Linked DNA regions of Homo sapiens: regions 1 and 3 are each linked to region 2. The links are contacts of gene promoters, found by promoter capture Hi-C in blood cells and fetal thymus (Javierre and others, 2016). All regions are on one chromosome and are shown on one strand. The core of a region is centred on a gene start or on the middle of the fragment in contact, and the rest is flanking DNA. Distances in the headings are between cores, read along the strand shown. Region 1 has its middle 5.6 kb from the start of GLIPR1L2. Region 2 holds the start of OSBPL8 (oxysterol binding protein like 8). Region 3 holds the start of GLIPR1L1 (GLIPR1 like 1).

Evidence for each region. The method cuts DNA at HindIII sites, captures the fragments that hold promoters and counts their contacts. A CHiCAGO score of 5 or more calls a contact.
Region 1: a contact is called between a fragment that was not itself captured here and the fragment with the promoter of OSBPL8 in region 2, in 2 of 17 cell types (total B cells and total CD8 T cells). The highest score is 6.3, in total B cells.
Region 3: the fragment with the promoter of GLIPR1L1 here is called in contact with the fragment with the promoter of OSBPL8 in region 2 in 5 of 17 cell types (total B cells, naive CD4 T cells, naive CD8 T cells and 2 more); the score reaches 9.2 in total B cells.

What each region holds. Positions count from the first base shown.
Region 1 is chr12:75,382,971-75,387,946 of GRCh38, reverse strand. It overlaps a transcript of CAPS2 not described here. Among named protein-coding and RNA genes, the nearest start is that of GLIPR1L2, 5.6 kb to the left of the region's middle. The HindIII fragment of the contact is 1,274 bases long and covers 2,421-3,694 here.
Region 2 is chr12:76,556,474-76,561,028 of GRCh38, reverse strand. It overlaps OSBPL8 (oxysterol binding protein like 8), which reads left to right and starts at 1,258. Exons shown (of 24, transcript NM_020841.5): 1 at 1,258-1,632. LOC105369850 (a long non-coding RNA gene) reads right to left here and starts at 1,127. Exons shown (of 4, transcript NR_188081.1): 1 at 796-1,127. RefSeq lists a silencer at 1,428-1,617 and an enhancer at 2,028-2,337. The HindIII fragment of the contact is 3,809 bases long and covers 860-4,555 here.
Region 3 is chr12:75,331,266-75,336,268 of GRCh38, reverse strand. GLIPR1L1 (GLIPR1 like 1) reads right to left here and starts at 1,599. Exons shown (of 6, transcript NM_001304964.2): 1 at 1,367-1,599. The coding sequence starts at 1,540. It also overlaps a transcript of CAPS2 not described here. RefSeq lists a silencer at 1,753-1,862. The HindIII fragment of the contact is 15,549 bases long and covers 1-3,640 here.

The DNA.
Region 1 (4,976 bases), core at 1,808-4,307, 1.2 Mb after region 2:
GTTTTCAACTCCTTTGGATAAATACCATGAGCATGATTGCTGGATCATAACTATATGTTATAGTAAATGCTATTGTTTGGATATTTGTCCCTTTCAAAATTCATGTTGAAACTTAATCCCCAATGTAACAGTATTGAAAGGTGGAGCCTTTAAGAAGTGATTGGGTCTGTCCTCATGAATGTATTGATCCATTCGTAGATTAATGGGTTAATGGATTAGTTTAGCCCCTTTACCATGTGATACTCTGTGCTGCCTTGGGATTCTGCAGAGTCCCCAGTAGCAAGAAGGGCCACACCAGATATGGCCCCTTGACTTTGAAATTCTCAGCCTCCATAATTCTAAGAAGTCAATTCCTTTTCTTTATAACTTACTCAGTTTCAGGTATTTTCTTATGAGCAACATTAAACAGACTATGGCAGTAAGCATAATGTTCAGTTTTTTAAGAAACTGCTAAACTATGTTCCAAAGTGGCTGTGCCATTTTGCATTCCCACCAGCAGTGAATGAGAGCTCATGTTCCTCCACATCCTTGTCAGCATTTGGTGTTGCCAGTGTTCTGGATTTTGGCCATTCTAAAAGGTGTGTAGTGGTATTTCATTGGTATTTTAATGTGCGTTTTCCTGGTGACATATGATGCACCTTTTCATATGCTTATTTGAGTACTGTATGTCTTCTTTGGTGAGGTGTCCATTAAGGTTTTTGACCCATTTTTAAATTAAACTGTTTGTTTTTCGATTGTTGAGTTTAAAGAGTCTTTGCATATTGTGCGTAATAGTTTTTATTGCATATATCTTCTGTAAGTATTTTTCTCCCAGGCCATGGCTTGTTTTTTCATTCTCTTGAGAATGTCTTTTGCTGAGTAGAAATTTTTAGTTTTAATGGCACCCAGCTTATCGATTTGTTCTTTCATAAATCATACCTTTTGTGTTGTATCTAAAAGGTTATTGCCAAATTAAAGATCATCTAGATTTTCTCTTATATAACCTTCTGGGAGTTTATACTTTTGTATTTACATTTAGGTCTGTGATCCATTTTGATTAATTTTTGTGAAGGGTATAAAGTTTGTGCTTAGACTGGTTTTTTTTTCTTGTATATGGACGTTCAGTTGTTCCAGAACCATTTGTTGAAAAGACTACATTTCTCCATTATATTGCCTTTGCTCCTTTGTCAAAGATCAGTTGACTTTATTTATGCTGTTCTATTTCTCAGCTCTCTATTCTGTTCCATGGATTTATTTCTACTTTCACCAATACTATACCTTTTAAATTATTGTATTTTTGCTATTGTTTGAATATGTCCCCCTAAATTCATATGCTGGAAAATTAATCCCCAATACAACAGCATTGAGGGGTGGGATCTTTAAGAGGTGATTGGGTCATGAGAGCCCTGTCCTCATGAATTGTATTAATGCCATTATCACAGGATTGGTAAAATATTGAGGGAGTGAGTTCCTGATAAAAGAGTGAGTTCAGCTCCCTTCTTTTGCACATGTGCATGCACTCTCTTCCTCTGTGAACTCCTGCCATCAGATGACACAGCCAGCAGGCCCTCACCAGATGCAAGCTCCTCAACCTTGGACTTTCTAGCCTCCAGAACTGTAAGAAATTGATCTTTTTTTAAAATAAATTACCAAATATCAGATATTCTGTGATAGCAGCACAAAACAGACTGAGACACGTACCCTTATAGTAAGTCTTAATGTCACGTAGTGTTAGTCCTGCAACCTTGTTCTTCTCATCCAATGTATTGGCTGTTCAGGGTTTTTTTGCCTCTTCATATAAACTTTAGAATAATTTTGTCAGTCTCCACAAATTAACTTGCTGAAATTTTGATTGGGGTTACATTAAATCAATAGATCAAATTGGGAATTACTGATATCCTAACAAATTCCTTGTTCATTCTATTATGAACAAGGAATATTTATGAACAAGGAAATAGAATGAACAAATTCCTTCTTCATTCTATTTATGAACAAGGAATATTTCTTCATTTATTCAGTTCTTTGATTTATTTTATCATACTTTTGTAGTGTTCCTCATACAGATCTTGTAAATATTTTGTTAGATTTATGACTAAGTATTTGTTTGTGTGTGCTAAACGCTATTATGTTTCCAATTTTAAATTCTACTTGTTCATGGCTAGTATATAGGAAAGCAATTTAAAGTAACTGACTTTTCTATATTAACCTCGTATCCTGCAACCTTGCTAAAATCATTGATTAGTTTCAGGAGTTTGTTGATTCTTTGGATTTTGTACATAAATAATTATGTCATCGGCAAACAAAGACATTTTTATTTCTTCTCAATCTATAAACCTTTTATTTTCTTGTCTTATTGTATTAGCAAGGATTTCCAGTATGAAGTTGAAGAGCAGTGATGAGAGGGGCATCTGTGCCTTGTTCCTGATCTTAGTGAGAAAGCTTCCTGTTTCTCATCATTAAGTATGCAGTTAGCTATAGCTTTTTTTTGTAAATATTGATATCTTTATCAATATCTCAGGGAAGTTTCCTACTATTCCTAGTTTATTGAGAATTTTTATTATGAGTTCATACTGGATTTTGTCCAGTGCTCTTCCTGCATCTATGGATATAATCATATGATTTTTCTTCTTTAGCCTATTGATGTGATTTATTACATTAGTTGATTTGCAAATTGAACCAGGCTTGTATACCTATGTCTTAGTTCATTTTCTGATGCTTATAACAGAATACTTGAAACTGGGTAATTTATAAAGAAAAATAATTTATTTCTTACAGTTATGGAGGCTGAGAACATAAGGTTGAGGGGCTGCGTTTGGTGAAATACCTTCTTGCTGTTGAGAACTCTCTGCAAAGTCCTGAAGCAGTGCAGGGCATCATATGGCAAGAAGGTTGGGCATGCTAGCTCTGGTCCCTCTTCCCCTTTTTACTAAGCCCTTTAGTCTCACTCCTGTGATAACCCATTAATCCATTAACTTATTATCCTATTAATCCATTAATCTATGAATGTATTGGTTCATTCATGAGGGCAGAGCCCTCATAACCCAATAATCTTTTTAAAGCCCCACCTTTCAATACTGCCTCAATGGAAATTAAATTTTAACATGAATTTGGAGGGGAAAATATTTAGACCAGAGCAATCTGGAATAAATTCCACTCCATCATGTAATATAATTATTTTTATACGTTGTTGAATTCAATTTGCTTAGTATCTTGTTGGGGAATTTTGCATCTATGTTCATGAGAGACGTTGGTCTGTAGTATTTTTTTTCTTGTAATGTTTTTGCAGGATTTTGGTATTAGGGTAATGCTGGCCTCATAGAATGAGTTAAGAAGTATTCTGTTTGCTTTTATCTTCTGAAAGACATTATACAGAATCGATCACTTTTTTCTTTAAATTTTTGGTAGAATTCACCAGTGAATTTATCTGGGCCTGGTGCTTTCTGTTTTGGAAGGTTATTAGTTATCAATTAAATTTCTTAAATAGGAATAGGCCTCTTCAGATTGTCTATTTCTTCTTGCATGAGTTGTGAGAGATGTGTCTTTCAAGGAAGTGGCCCGTTCATCTAGATTATTAAGTTTGTGGGTGTGGAGTTGTTCACAGTGTTGCTCAGTTATCCTTTTAATGTTTATCAGATCTGTAGTGATGTTCCTTCCTTCATCTCTGATATTGATAATTTATGTCTTTTCCCTTTTCCTGTTAGCTTGGCTAGAAGCTTATCAATCTTATTTATGCCTTAAAAAACCAGCTTTTGATTTTATTAATTTTCTCTATTAATTTTGTTTTCAATTTTATTGATTTCTGTTCAAATTTTTATTATTTCTTCTGCTTACTTTGGGTTTAATTTGCTCTTTTTTTTCTAGTTTCTAACAGTGAAAGCATATGCGATTTTAGATCTTTCTTCTTTTCTAATATATTTATTCAATGCTACAAATTTACCTCTAAGCAATGCTTTGCTGCATCCCACAAATTTTGCCAAGTTGTTTTCATCTTCATTTATTTAAAAATATTTTCAAATTTCTTTTGAGATTTTTTCTTTGGACCATGTGTTATTTAGAAGTGTGCCATTTAATCTCTTATTTTGGAATTTTATGGTTATCATTCTGTTACTGATTTCTAGTTCAATTACTAGTGGTCTGAGAGCAGGCATTACATGATTTCTATTCTAAATTTGTTAAGGTGTGTTTTATGGTCCAGAATATAGTTTATTTTGGTAAATGTTTCATATGAGCTCGAGAATATATATTCTGCTATTGTCGAATAATGTATAGACGTCTTATTACATCCAGGTGATTGATGTTGTTGTTGAGTTTAACTATGTCCTTACTGATTTTCTGCCTGCTGAATCTATACATTTCAGATAGAGGTGTTTTGAAGTCTCCAACTATAATAGTAGATTCGTCTATTTCTTCTTGTCATTCTATCAGTTTTGTCTCATATATTTCTACACTCTCTTGTTAGGTGCATATACATTAAGGATTGTAATGTCTTCTTGGAGAATTAACCCCTTTATTATTATGTAATGCCTCTGTTTAATCCTGATAACTTTCCTTGTTTTGAAGTTGGCTGCAGCCAAAATTAATATAGCTATCTTGGTTTCTTTTGATTAGTGTTGTAAAGCTAGATTTTAAGCCCAGGTGACTAAGATAGGAGTATGGAAGGACACACAAAAGCATCTCATTTGGTTTCTGTAGAAAGAAGTGGGGTTTGCTGACAATGTTCTGCAAATATTCAATCTTTCGTATCTGTCAGTGAATCAGCTCCCATTATATACTTCATATAAAAAAATTTTAATGCATTATATTCTATGATATATATTTTCAAAAAATTTAAAGAGGCATGTAATACATGAGAATTATTTAATCATAGTTTCATGAAATACGTATTAAATCACAGGTTGTGTACATTTTCTAATAAGGTTTGAATGGTTGTAGATTTTTGAACTTTGAAATTTGGGGCAAAACAGTTTTAAGTTATTTTATATTGAAAGTGATGGAAA
Region 2 (4,555 bases), core at 9-2,508:
AAGGAAAAAGATGTGGCTTAAAGGTGCCTTACATATCAGCGGTATGGCATAGTTTCATTGGCAGCCTTTGTTTTCTTTCTTGGGTAACATAAAACAATGTAAGTCTATGATTTTTTTAGAGCTGCTATGAAATATATTAATAATAATTATATAGGCCAAACTCTATTGCTTATTCATTTCAATGTATCCAGCTTATCAGAATGCCTTCTGATTTCTTGTTAAGAAAATGTAATGAGATGAGAATAGCTTAAGAAAAAAATCCTTAGTTCTGGGCTACAAGGGAAAATGAGTTATGACCCCAATTTAATTATTACAGAAAGCTTTCTCATTTGCCTTCATTGTGATCAGGGTTTGAGTATGATCTTTATTCTACCTCCCTTACTTCTGTATAGTTAGGATTTCATTAGGCGGCTAGAGGGTTCTTCGGATCATGGCTAAAAAAGAAAGCAAAAGGTTAAGTCCTAGAGTTAAGGAATTAGGAAAAAAAAATTAAGGCATTAGAAAAAAAATCAAGAATTAGGCTTTATTTTAAAAAATGGAACAAACTGTCAAATTCCTGCGTACCCGTTTAAACTGTCACCAACCTAACACACTGTAAAACTTAATGACTGTAAAACTGGCAGCAGGATCCTGAACATAACAAGGAACAAAAATAAGTTTGCTAGGCTGTTTTCATCCCAGCATGATTGAAATACACCGTTTCCTCAAAAAAAAAAAAACCTCTAATGAGGAAAGCAGTAAATTAAATGCCACGGTTAATGTGCCACTAGAAATAGGAACAAGTAGTTTAGTTACCGAATGCTTCTTAGGCCATACACTCTACACCACGATGCGTTCTTTTTTCTGTTTCGCTAAAGCTTTCACCAAGCCTAAGGCTGGAGAGGGGTCCTAACTGAGCCCTGACCAGACCAGGGAGCCCTACTGTGCAATCTCCTCAGGTTAGGAAGGGCCCAGTATGACCGGCCCAGAAGGCCTGGCCGATCAACAGGCGCTGGGCCGACGGTGGTGGGCTCGCTTCCTGAGGCTGCCCTTGGGCATGCGGAAGGGGACTGGCTGGCGATAACACCCTGGCGAAGCAAGGTGGACAGTGACTCCCGCCCGGTTCGAGCCCGCCTAGCAGGGGAAGCAACTCCACCACCGCCTCCGCGCACCGTCACGTGACGGGAAGAGGGCGTGGCCGAAGCCCGTGATCCGGGGGGCGGGCGGGGCAGGGGGAGGGCACTAGAATGTGAAGGATCTTCGCGGTTCTGGGTGCCCAGAAAGGCGGCGACGCGGCGGATGACAACATTAGGCCGCGACGCGCTCCTGGCCAGGCGGCGGCTGTAGTGTTAGCTTTGGACGCCGCAGTAGCCGCTGCCGGTAGCAAGCCGACTGAGGGAAGGTGGGGGTCCGCCCGGGCTGGTGGACCTCGGGGCCGAAAGTTCCCGCCCCGCTCGGGGGCTGAGCCGGCAGTGCCTCCGCGGCCGCTGGGCAGCGCCCTTCGTCCAGGCTCGCGCCCCAGCTGCCGCCGACGACAGCGGCCGAGAGAAGTTGGGGTCTGACTAGACGCTTACGGGGCCTCGGACCCCGGCGCCGCGGCGACCTCGGAGGAACCGGCTCCTTGCGTCCCGCCTCCCTGGGAGCTCCGCACGGGTGAGTGTTGCTCCATTCCTGAGGTTGGGGTGCTGGGTTCGCACCCCTCAGGGCGACTGCGCACCCTTATTGCCACGTTCTGAGCTCGGGCTGTCGGGGACTCCTGGCCACCCCCGCCGAGGAGTTCTTTGGCTCCTTTGTTCCCTTTTGGAGTAGGGGGATTGGAAAGGCTGGCAGGGTGGAGTGTTTAGGGGCCCACAGTAGGTGCATCTGCAGCCTTACAAAAGCCGCGGCAGGGGAACGGGGGTGGGAGGCTGTTGGAGCATTTCGACCGCCCCGGGTGTCTGTCCCTCCTGAAGTTTGATAGGTTGATGGCATGGGCCTCGTTGGGAGCCCCCGCGCCCAGGAGAGCTGGCGCTTTGTCGCTCGGTGCGGTTAAGGCGAGGCTCCTTCTTTCCTGTGACAGCCCCAGAGAAGGCTGTGCCGCGCACCGCAGACCGCACCCGCCTTTGCAGAGCCAAGCGACACGGTGTTGTTCCTCTAAGCCTCAGTTCTCCCGGCCTTCTTGTAACGTAGGAGGAAAGCCAAGCCTTTGCTGTGCTTTTAAATTTAATGTTTGTTTCTAAGCCCTCTCTCAAGAGTGGAATCAGGTTCCAAGGAGCTTCACAGGCAGCATGCTTTAGGTTCATTGAACCACCCACTCAAGACTGGCTGAGGCGAAGCAACAGTATATGCAGATTTTCCATTCACAAAAGTCATTTAACACTCTTCTTTATGAGACACATCTGCGTTGCAGAACGTAACCTAATTTCATTTTATTTAAATGCTTTCTGAAATAATAGGTAACTTGGACAACGTAAACAGATGGGTAAACTTTAACTGATAATGTAAGTATATATGCATTAAATAAAAAATTTAATGATGTTTTTGCCTTTCTGCTGCTAGAAGACTTAAATGACGTCTGAGTAGTAATACAGTGTCTCCTGCATGGCAGTTAAGTTTTTCCCAAAATTAGTGCTGCTTTTGAAATAATCCTTTAAAACAGTTTTTGCCTCCCTTCGTATCTAGAGAGAGCAAGAATTGTGGAGAATCGTGGGTGAATTGATTGTTAAATTTTGCTAATTTCCTAGAGTTTCATCTAAACTTGATTTTGCTGAGAGGCTATGATCAGTTTCTATGCTTGCTAGAACCTGTTTTGCAGTGAAATTATTAAGATCATGCTAGTTTTATAAAATAGGTTGGAATAGGAAAAGTAAGGCCATGCAATTTAAAACTGTTCTCTATAAAAGTACAACTAATTTCAAATGTTTGTTACTTTTATTTTTTTTTAATATTAACCGTGTATGGAGTGACTATAATATACCTGCTCAAAGGGCTGAGAAAGGAAATAGATGAAACTTAAGCTACCTTTTGGGTCTTTAATTATGGACATCAAGTTATTGCGGTCACATTCCATGTCAACCGTTTGAACAGCAATACCGTGTACACAGGTGCTTAGAAATGCCTGTTTAATTAAAAATGGCCATGGTTTATTTCTCTTTGATTGAATCATAATAGTTATTGAATCTCTGATCTGTGGAAAGATGCTACTGTATTTTCCTTAGAATGTTACTGCATTTTAAAGACAGTCAAATATGTTTTTTATAACACATTCAGGGTACTTATACATTTGTCAATATTCAGTTCCTTGGTTCATTTAAAAATTGGAAGCCTTAGAAAACACTTTGGGGATAAATTTACAATTGTGTATAATGAATTTATGTTTTAGTTTGCTTTAAGAAAAATGATGAAATTATGAATTTGTAAAATATGCATTACAAAAGGATTTTTTTTTTTTTTTTTTTTAAGACTGTCTCACTCTGTATCCCAGGCTGGAGTGCAGTGGTGCAACTTGGCTCACTGCAGCTTCTGCCACCTGGGTTCAAGAGATTCTTATGCTTCAGCCTCCTGAGTAGCTGGGATTACAGGTGCGTGCCACCATGCCAGGCTAATTTTTGTATTTTTATTAGAGATGGGGTTTCACCATGTTGGCCAGGCTGGTCTCCAACTCCTGGCCTCAAGATCCGCCCGCCTCAGCCTCCCAAAGTGCTGGGATTACAGTCATGAGCCACTGTGTCTGGCGGATCTTTTGTTTAAAAGTATGAATTGCAGAATTTTAACCAGTGTTAGTACATTTCAACTTGGCTTTGGTTTGTAAATAATCCTTCAAAAGTAGATTACTTGAATTAAGGCATTAAAGACAAAGAATTGATACAGTACATAGATCTAGTTTTCTAATATTAATTTGGAAAACTTTTATCCTAATATTATCCTAATAACAATGCCTGAAATGTCATGTTGTAATGTTTGTATTATATTGAAAGTTAAAAACATTTATAGCAATGTTCTTGGAGCATCAGGCAATTCAAAGAGGACATAGGTCCTGCCTTAATCTTACAAATAATGACCTGCAAATAAGACAGAAACACAACTTGAATAAAAAAGCCTTTGAGAGGCCAGGCCCGGTGGCTCACGCCTGTAATGCTAGCACTTTGGGAGGCTGAGGTGGGCAGATCATGAGGTCAGAAGTTCAAGACCCGCCTGGCCAACATGGTGAAACCCCGTCTCTACTAAAAATACAAAAAAATTAGCTGGGCGTGGCAGTGTGTGCCTGTAATCCCAGCTACTTGGGAGGCTGAGGCAGGAGAATCGCATGAACCCAGGAGACAGAGATTGCAACGAGCCAAGATCATGCCATTGCACTCCAGCCTGGGCGATAGAGCAAGACTCAGTCTCAAAAAACACCAAAAAAACAAAAAGCCTCTGAGAAATATACAATTTTTAGTGAAGGTGGCTGGGTACAAGGAGATTAGTAGAAGTGCTTGACTGGAGCAGTTGTGGCCAAAGTATAGCTTCCTTGTGATGAGACACAGGAAGAGATGTCTAGACTCATGTTGTGTGCATATTTCATGGCAGTATGTGGGAAACCCCTGAGAGATTTTAG
Region 3 (5,003 bases), core at 350-2,849, 1.2 Mb after region 2:
CCAAAAATTAATCAAGGACTTTAGTATTCTACTTACTGGATTTTTAGCTCTACTTCTTTGTATATTTTTAATGGTTATCCTAGATATTAAAATATGCATTCTTAACTTCTCACGGTCCATCCAGAAATATTATTGTGATTCTTAACAATATAAGGAACTTTCAGCAGAATAATTCTATTGACACTTCACTTCATTTTTTATGCATTGGTTATAATGTGTTTAGTTTCTACATTATTATAAACTCCACAATTCATTGTTATCATATTTTGCTTTAAATAGTCAATGAGTACAAAAGAAATATAAAGAACATTTATTATATTTAACCCCACATTTACTCTTTTTTATCATACATTTACAATAAAACTCTAAAGGCATCAACCATATTAATACTAATATTAGTATTTCTGAATTCCGTTGAAGATTTATTTCTAGTTAATTTATGCCTTGGACAACCCCAAGCTGGTAAACATTATATATTAAAATATCTTAACAATTCTGCATTAAAGAGATTAGTTTATTCTTGTTTCATTTCTGATACATATTTGAATCTTTCTCCATCAAAATATAATTTTCTTATACAGTAGACTAGTACAGTTTTGAACTTATTTTAATGCCTGAGTTGTGATTTTATAATTACTTTTGTTTTCCACTGGATAGAAAAGAAGAAAGCTGGAATAGATATGAGTTATACTGTATCTACATCTGCATAGCACATAAAATAGACTAATACTATCAACGTTTATGCTCATAGTGATGCATTTATAAACAAGAAAAAGTTACAATGCAAGGGAAATTTCCAATCATACAATTCATAGTCAAGTATTTAAAATTTTGTAAATTCTATGGATTATTTAATAATCCAATGCTTTTTATGCTTATTCTTCAATAGAGTACTGTATTTTTTTCAAATAATACTACACATGAAGTGTTGTTTTGATCTTGGATTCATATGATATAAAAATAAGTAAGAGAACAAGAGAATCTCCATTCCTGGGCTATTTCTTTGGTATCTTGTATCTTGGTTGTGGGGGGTGGAAATTGCTAGCTAAAAAATGGAAGAAAGAAAACAAAATAATCCTGTGTTCAGTACTTATAACTTTAGTGGTGCAACAAAGCAACTTCCAAACACTGCTCCAGCATCCCCACCTTCCCCGCAAGAGGCAAGGAACAGCTTCAAGTCTTCCTTTCTTGTTCACTCCTATGACTCTGGAGGAGACAGCCCAACCAAGGTGTGAATTTTTTTCTTTTTAACTGCATATATGTAAAGTCCGGATTGAATTAGTACAAGTTAAGTCCGTGAAATTTATCACCCAGATACCTCAGGATGAGTCAGGGATTTAAGAGCCCAGCCCTGGTTCTTTCTCACCATGTATTTCATGTCGGCCGCGGGAGGGTTGACTTTGCCACGCCATTCGTTGTGGGCTTCTATGCAGTTGTCTATAAAGTGTGGGTCAGTGATGGATGGGATTTTGGAAGATGTAGTGGCTACCAAACACAGACCCAAGATCCATAAACAACTGAATTTATTCTTCAGAGCCATGGAAGGATGTGGAGGATGCGGAGGATGCCCTGACTGCGCGGACCAGTAACGGCTGGGGCAACCCGATTTCCCCACGCCCCCGCACCACGCTCTCCCTTGGCTCCATCCTGCCGCACAGGCTCGAGCCCAGCGCGGCTGGATCAACTTGTCAGTGTCGCTGTGGGGAAGAACAGGCAGCAGGGTTCCCCTTCCACAAAGCTCTGAGCTACAGGGGAAAGCTCTGAGTCGCCCTCTGGTGGAGGGAATTTCAACCATCCAAACTGCTTTCTGTGGATCCAATCTGTAATCTGCAGAGCGCGTCTGGATTGTAATACAGATTGCAATATGCAAGCCACACAAGTTAGGTAAAGAACAAGTGCGGGATGCTGACAATGGGCCAGTCGAGTGCAAAGCACTATATATTCGTTTCTTAGACGCAGCTTCCGTGTATAGATTTTTATTGTTCTAAATAATCTAGAATCATATTGCCACTTCCCTCAGAGATTGGGAATAGAGTAAGAATAGGCAATTCTTATACAGTGACATACAGTGATCCTAAATTATCAACTTGTCAAACATTTAATAATTTCCTTCTGTTTTTTCGTCTGAAGAGACCGAATGCTTAGATAGATAACAATAGATGCTTGGAAAATGTAGCCAAGTAGTTCCTCTTGACAAAATCTTCCCTTTTTGATAGTTTGGAACAGAGCCACTGTATGGTGACTGGTAGACTCCAAGAGTTGCTTTAATTGATACACTGAGACTGGGATGGACAGAGTACATTTGATTGTCTATTTTACCTGCAATGCAATATAAATCAACGTCATTTGGCTTAATGTTTTAAATTCATTACATCAGTTATATTGATATTCTGTAATAAACCAGCATTTTTCCCCATGACATTAATTTTTTTTAGTATTTCTATGTTTCAAATAAATACCTTTACTTAGTAATTTGAAGTTGTTTACAATGCTGTTTAATTCAAGTGAACACGTACTTACATCTGCTGAATGATCCGCCATAGTCAACCTTGACACAAAAAACAAAAACCAAAACAAACTACTTTGATGCAGCTACTATCTTTTTAAAAATAAAAAGCAGAAAATTAGATTATAAGAAAACGAAAAATGCAAGGATCCTAATGGAAATTCTACTGGGCAATAGATAATATATTTCTAGTCTACTACCAGCTAATGGAGAATTGCTGTATATACTACTTTCATATCACATACATAGTCCAAACTGAGCTTCTGATATCCCACACCCAAAGACATGAACATATATACGTGTGTGTGTGTGTGTATATGTGTGTGTGTAGGTATACAGATAGATAAATCAATACAGTTATATACATCTACATGTGTCTATATATATATGTCTCTTCCTGGATATAAAGATATCTATAGGCATATACACACATACATATACACACATACATTTATATATGTAAAGTTCTCTCTATGTATAAATCTGTTTGTATACACATATATGTGTGTGTGTCTGCCTATAGACATATATACATCTACACAGAGAGAGATACAGATGTCTATAGGCATATATACATATACATATGTTTGTATACAAAGAGAAAGAGAACTTTTAAGGAATTGGCTCACATTACAGTGGGGGGCTACAATAAAAAATCTGAAGTCCTAGGTATGGCCCAAAAGACACTACATAATCTGACCATGGCTAGTTCTCTGGCATTCTCTCCTGGCTTATTCTGCATCAGCCACATCCATCAGCTTGATAAGGATGCTCTCTCCTCAGCATCTTTGCACTTGCTGTTACTTTTGCCTGCAGTGCTCTTTATAGAGTTCCCTTCAGTGAAGTCTTCCCTGATCATTCTATATCCCCTGTCTGTCAGTGCCTATCCATTTAACCTGTTTTATTTTTCTTCATTGCATTAATTACCTCCTGAATTTATGTTATTTATTTTTTTAACATCTGCCTTCTCTATCAGATTGTAGCCTTCACCACAACAGTAGCTTTGTTTTCTTCATTGCTACATCTCTAGCACCTTGAACAGGAACTGAATCTTTAGGCTCTCAATAAAAATTGGTCGAATAAATAAATGAGTTCTCTTTAACTTTCTAATAATGTTGTATACAACTGTAAGCTTCTTGAGAGCAGAAACTATATTTTAATTGTTATATATATGTATATATACATATGAGGGGCTCAATAAATATTTTTGACTTAATCACATAAAAGGAAATGCTGGGTAAGCTTATATATTTCACTTTTTCTAACACTGGGTATATTTGAAGATAGAAGGTGTTCAGTGGATGTTTGTCAAATACATAAGTGGCTGAATGAACAAATAAATACAAAGATAAAGTAAAATATTTTCAAGTAGTAGGTACTCAGTGAATGTTGGCTGCATTAATGAATGATCAAGTAAATGAAAATTTAAAGTTGAGCTTCAAATGCAAACTCTTTTGGAACTGCAAAACAGTAAAGGTTGATAGGGATAAGGTTAATAGGGATAAAGGTTAACAGATAGCTAATTTAGTTTCATTTAGTGTATAGAGAAATTAACTGCCTGTAACAACAACAGAAATTTCATAGAGTAATGAATTTAAAGATTGGCAAAAGTAGAGTATATATAGTCAAACATAATCCAAGATTATTGCTCTTCTAAGAGACGTTTTTAATAAAATGTCTGAATTGTATACATTATGTTTTTTAGATCATGTTCCCAATGGCTTAGACAGCTATATTCAGAAATACTAAAACAATTTAGGTGTAAAAAGTCTAATTGCCAGGAATCAACAAGTGCATGTCCTAATGTTATTTTCTTGAACATCTATTTCTGGAATGGCCAAGGTTAGTTGGTGCACCAGAATTTTTAAGTTCTTTTATAACTTTTTAAAAGTTAAATTTAGGCCGGGCGCGGTGGCTCACGCCTGTAATCCCAGCACTTTGGGAGGCCGAGGGGGGCGGATCACGAGGTCAGGAGATCGAGACCATCCCGGCTAAAACGGTGAAACCCTGTCTCTACTAAAAATACAAAAAATTAGCCGGGCGTAGTGGCGGGCGCCTGTAGTCCCAGCTACTTGGGAGGCTGAGGCAGGAGAATGGCGTGAACCCGGGAGGCGGAGCTTGCAGTGAGCCGAGATCCCGCCACTGCACTCCAGCCTGGGCGACAGAGCGAGACTCCGTCTCAAAAAAAAAAAAAAGTTAAATTTAGCTTTCTGTTTTATTTTTATGTGTGTTTTCTGCTATTTATTTTTGCTTTTCTTTCTATGTGGGGGTAATGGATAGATGAATTTTATGGAGTGCAGCAGAAAAATACAGAGTGATTACATTATACCTCATTTCCTTCACTATTTTTATACTTTAAAAATTTATTTGTATTTTTACTCCCAAATTTGCACCAGGAAATACTGGAAATATTCACGTTTTGATACATACATTCTGAGGGGAGCTAATTTTGAAAAGTTACTGCAGATTAGAAAAACATGATTATGAAAGAACTGGA